Regions from separate parts of the Homo sapiens genome. Here region 2 is linked to region 1. Evidence: promoter capture Hi-C in human tissues and cell types (Jung and others, 2019). All regions are on one chromosome and are shown on one strand. The core of a region is centred on a gene start or on the middle of the fragment in contact, and the rest is flanking DNA. Distances in the headings are between cores, read along the strand shown. Region 1 holds the start of CA14 (carbonic anhydrase 14). Region 2 overlaps PI4KB (phosphatidylinositol 4-kinase beta).

Region 1 (2,712 bases), core at 71-2,570:
TCCCTGGTCTGTAAAGGTGCCTGTCCACTCTGGTCAGAGCCTCAACACACTTATTCTGTCTCTTCCTCCTCTTTCCCTCTTTTTTTCTTTCTCCTCAGATGAGATTTGTGACTCTCCATTTGGCTGCCTGCCTGCCCCCATCCTCTCTGCATTTGCCTTCTGCTCTCTGGACACCCACCTCACCCTGCTCTTTCCACAAACCTCAGTTACACACCTAGTATGTGCTGGACACTGTGCTAGGCACAGGAAACACAAAAATGAGGTCTAGGAGTTCCTGGGGACACTCCTGGAGCGCTTCAGCCTGTTCTCCCAAGAATCCCTCCTCATCTCCTGGGAGCTCCTGAAAGTCCTTTGTAAACTGTAAAATGTCAAACAAATGTTGACTCTTACTGCCACTTTCAGAGGATAACTGGGGAGTTAGTCGCTCCACAGAATGAAGAGGGAATCTTGGCCAAAAGGGGATGAATTGGAGATCAGGGTCTGAGTTGGGCAGGAAGTATTCTTCCCCCTACCCCCATCTATCCATCTTTTTACTCCAGGCCTCTTTGACTCCCTATTTGGAGGAGTTTGTAAATAAAGAAGTCCAGGAGTCCTGCCTGGGACCAGGGCAGTGGGGGAAAGAGCTCTGGAGAAAATCTGTAGCCTGCAAAGAGATTCCAGCACTTGCATGTGTACACACTCTGCCTGCCTGCCGCTAGTTCTCCCCGACCTCCAATAACAACAAGGCTGGAGAGACAAAAGGTAAAGAAGGGAAGTGGTCTCCTCCACACCCCACTCTTTTTTCCTCATCTCTGAGCCTATTATTCCAGCCTCTAGGCTTCCTTTCACACCTCTCCTCCCCCCATTAAGCACACCTGGCGACATGTGAACATCAGCACAAATCCACACACAGACATTTAGTTGTACCTACCCCCATCTGCAGCCAGGATCCAAATCACCTCCAGCAGGAGGGCGGAGAACAACATAGTGTCCCAGGAAGGGGTGCAGGGGACTGGGAATTTGAGGACTAGAGGACTAGGACAGGCAGAGAGAGAGGGAGGGAGGAGTGAGAGAGAGAGAGAGAGAGCGAGCGAGCTCCTGGCGTGAGTGTATTTATCTCTGCTTCTCTTGCTGTCTCTGTCTCTGTGGGCTTCCAGGGGATTCGGTGTTCAGTAGGGTATCATGGGTTTCTGGATCCCCAGGACAAATCTCTTGCTGCCTCTTTGCCCTCTCTCTTTATCTCCCTCTGCAGTCTCCACTCCACTAGCTGGCCAGCGACTTTACAACTGCCTCCTGCTTTTAAGGTGGCTCTGAACTGGTGTATGTGGGGACGGGGGTGCTGCCTGGGCTGCTGGTGAACAGCTCCTTAAATAGCCAATTAGGCATGCAGGATGGCCCCACTCGGAGCTGGAGCGCGGCAAGTTTCACTGGAGCCCTGGCCCTGGCTCAGGAGCCCAGCTGGGGTGAGCTCTTCCTTCCTCTGCTAGTCACACAGATGCTGTTTAGATGGGTGTTCCCTGGAGCAGGCAGGGTCAAGGAAGGGGCTTTGGGGTTCAACTCAGCCCCCTCAAAAGGACACTGTATTTTCATCCCCCCGCCTGATTTCTCCTCTGAGGAGCAGCTCCCTGGGTGGTATGCGGCAGATGGTGGGGGTACCTGTTCCCAATTCCCTGCATAATCTGAGCTGCCCTGGAATGGGAAGAGTCCAGAATTAGGAGATATATAACAAGAAGGAATTAGGGACTCAGGGTGCAGGGGAGGGGTGGAGGAAGTCAATAACTAAAACCTGAGTTGTGTCCTAAGTTCTAAGGAAGAGAAGTGAGGCAAGGAGAACTCATCTGGAGCAATCTCTTCTGTGCCTGCCACCACCCCCTTCCCACGGTGAGGCCTGGGTCCACGTGCCTGTGTGGCCTGGGGTGGGGGGAGTGCGGGGAGGGAGCGTTGTTTGCTGGATAAAGCCCATTTGTATGCCCAGTGGGGGAGGGGTGTAGCAGCACCATGGAGAGACAGCGGCTGTAACTGCCAGACCCAGCCACCTCCCTCTCCAGGGAGCCCAGATCTAGGGCGGCTTTTGTCACTGAAGAGGACACTGACCTCCGGCAGAGAGGCCAGGGCAGGAGGAAAGGAGAGACTTTAGGAACAATCACTACCACCATCAGAAAAAGGTGGTTTCCAGAGAAAGAGAGGGGAGGGTCTGGAGAGACCATGTGATCCAGATGGAAGAGGGGCTCAGGGTCTTCCTTCCAGCCCAACAAAGGGCTGAGGCAGGACATGTGGCACTGAATGAAACCTGCCACCAAGGAGCTGCGTCCGTGGAGCATGGAGGCTGCACGTCTCAGGAATGTGAACTGATGTTTGCTCCCCACGGGACTGGAAATCCCGATTGGAATGTACATCCTAAATCCCTCGTTAGAGAATGTGAAACCCACAGATACTTTCAAGCCAGACATTGAAACCTCTTTCTCCTCCATGCTCTTCACCAGAGGCACCAGCCAGGAGGATGCACCCATCTGAAGCTCCCTCTGCCCTCCTTGCTCCTGCCGAGTAGCAATAAATAGCCAAACAAAGGGAGCAGAAGCTAAATAAGGGAGCAGGATAAAAGCCAAATGAACAGAATAATGCATGTGCTGGATCATCAGCTCCTGCAGAGACAGGAGCTCACTGTGCCTTTCTATCCCCTGTGATTGATCTGCAAAGCCAAGCCATTTTGCTGATGTCATTTCCCTTTTTCTT
Region 2 (2,712 bases), core at 71-2,570, 1.1 Mb before region 1:
ATGCCCTGCCCACAAAGGCATATTTTCTTGGCATTCAAAACTAAATGAAGCAAGCTGGGCATGGTGGCGGGTGTCTGTAATCCCAGCTACTTGGGAGGCTGAGGCAGGAGAATCGCTTGAACCTGGGAGGCGGAGGTTGCGGTGAGCCAACATTGCGCCACTGCACTCCACTCCAGCCAGGGCAACAGAGCAAGACTCTGTCTCAAAAAAATAAATAAAATAAAAATAATAGTAATAATAAATAGCTAAAGCAATTTAACCCTATTCCCTACAACACCTTCTTCTCCATATGACTTGCTTCAGATGCAGGCAGTGCCTGGGTTCCTGAGAGGCCAGGGAAGAGACCCAGCTCCAGTTTGGTGGTTTCTAGTGGTAGAGCTGCTTATATAGGAGAGGAGTCTGTTTTTTCCTGCACCTCTCAACACTGTCTAGCTCCCTGAGGAGTAAAAGCTGCCGGGAGGGAGAGTCTGTTCAGTAGCAAAATCCTCTGAATACTGTGATGTGATTCTTAGCTGAGCCCTGGGAGTTTTTCTTTTGTCTGTGAGATAAAAGAGGTGATAGTATCCTTATTTGCCTTCCTGGTGCCAGTAATAATCCCAATCGTAGTTAATTGGGGCAGGCATCTGCTAAATTTTCTAGTGAGGTCTGAGACACTATTATGTGGGAGAATGTCTGAACTGTATTTCCCTTGAAAGTTTTGAAAAGTGTACTTCTAGGAGCTTTCAGTGACTTAAAAGTCTGTGGACTAGAGGGAGAGGAAAGGATGTACCAAACATAGAGACTGAGAAAAAGAAGTTGATTGTTTAAGATGATTGAGGCTATCACATGAGTTTCTAAGCAGACCTAAAAGGTAGTGGTCCCCGTTGAATCGGTGACCCTCTGATGAGAGTGCCCTACGAAGGTGTGGCAGGGAATGATTAAAGCTTCCTTCTTATTATTCCTGTGCAACTCACAGTTGCGAGTAGGGACAGATCCACATAGGCAGCCATGCTGGTTCTACTGCTCAGAGGGCACTACCTAATTTTGGGAGAGAGCATAGTGAAAGAGTTGCCACCTTCTTACCAATACCAAGCTCAATCTGCATCAGGGATATTAAATTCAGGAATGAACTTGCTTGGCAGAGTTGGCAGAAAGAAACAGAAATAGCCTTTTTTGGTGATCTCTGAGAACAGAAGAGTTCCCCATCCGTCTTTCTGCAAAACTTTAGTGGTGACTGCTGGGAGGCAGGGAGCTGGACTATATGATATTGGGCAGTTAAAAGTAACCTGGGGCCGGGCGCGGCAGCTCACACCTGTAATCCCAGCACTTTGGGAGGCCGAGGTGGGCAGATCACGAGGTCAGGAAATCGAGACCATCCTGGCTAACATGGTGAAACCCTGCCTCTACTAAAAATACAAAAAATTAGCCGGGCGTGGTGGCGGGCATCTGTAGTCCCAACTACTTGTGAGCCTGAGGCAGGAGAATGGCATGAACCCGGGAAGCGGAGCTTGCAGTGAGCCAAGATTGCACCACTGCACTCCAGCCTGGGCGACAGAGCGAGACTCCGTCTCAAAAAGAAAAAAAAAGTAACCTTAACATTTCAGACGTACAAGAACAGACACTGGAAGGGTGGTGGTGGAAAACAGCCTCCCAGAGGGACTAAAGAATCTCTAGGCCTCCTTATTCCACCTACCCAAAGTATATGCATCCAGGGTCACCGGGGTTGAAGGTGATGTCACTAATATTTTGAAATTACCTGTATTCCAACTCTACAAAATCTTTCCTCTTGCTCATGCTCTTGAGTGTGTCTTAGACTCACTCTATTAGCATTTTTGTGAAGAGGCCTCTGAGTCTGAGTCCTTTGTTAGCTATAGTCAGATTCTGGAGCCAGGTTGATCTGATGAAATTTCCCCAGTTCTGCACTGATTCCAGATTTGGTGAGGCTCTGAAGGATTGTTCTTGGAGAGCAGTGGCTTTGGTCAGCAGTGTTCTTTCATTGAACTTCCTTCCAACAGTCCCTCCAGAGGAGGTGTTCTTTGTTTTGTGACTCCTGTTCCTCCCTGTTCTTTGGAAGGCCTAGATCTATGAGTCCTAGTCTGATTTCTTTTTGCCTTTTCAATTGTCCCTCCAGTTGTTAGAATGTGTGTATGACAGTGGGGGGAGTGGTATTGGGGCAGAAAAGGCTGTCATAAGTATTTCTGGAAGATTCTCAAACAATTGGAACTCTTTGCTTCCCTTATAAAATAATATAAGTTTTATGTTACACACACACTGGTTAGTAACCTTTTAGGTGATGAGGATTCAACTAGCATTTCTTTTTTTTTTTTTTGAGACAGAGTCTCGCTGGTCTTGAACTGCTGACCTCAAAGTGATCCACCTGCCTCAGCCACCCAGTGCACTGGGATTACAGGCATGAGTCACTGTGCCCGGCCTCAACTAGCATATATTGAGTACTACTATGTATCAAAGACTGTGCTAGATTCTTTCATACACGTGATGGTATTTGTTCCACATAGCAACAATGAGAAGGAAGTGTTTTTTCCCAATTTGCAGTTGAGGATAAATGGCTTGCATAAGTTGCACATTTCTGAAAGGCTGAATGAGGATTTTCAACCCCAGCCTATTTGCCTTCAAGTCCAGAGCTCTTTCCATTATATGTTAGCAGCCACGGCACTGGAGAAAGAGGGTGTGATGTCATGATGTCAGACAACCAGAGAAACGGCACAGCTTCAG

The links. Contacts are between HindIII fragments. The study calls those that stand out against the background at their distance.
Region 2: a fragment that was not itself captured here is called in contact with the fragment with the promoter of CA14 in region 1 in 1 of the 25 tissues and cell types used here (hippocampus).

Annotation. Positions count from the first base shown.
Region 1 is chr1:150,256,382-150,259,093 of GRCh38, reverse strand. It overlaps CA14 (carbonic anhydrase 14), which reads right to left and starts at 1,320. Exons shown (of 11, transcript NM_012113.3): 1 at 911-1,320. The coding sequence starts at 965. RefSeq lists an enhancer at 2,436-2,712. The HindIII fragment of the contact is 12,121 bases long and covers 1-2,712 here.
Region 2 is chr1:151,318,890-151,321,601 of GRCh38, reverse strand. The region is part of intron 1 of PI4KB (phosphatidylinositol 4-kinase beta); the gene reads left to right. Among named protein-coding and RNA genes, the nearest start is that of PI4KB, 7.2 kb to the left of the region's middle. The HindIII fragment of the contact is 7,586 bases long and covers 1-2,712 here.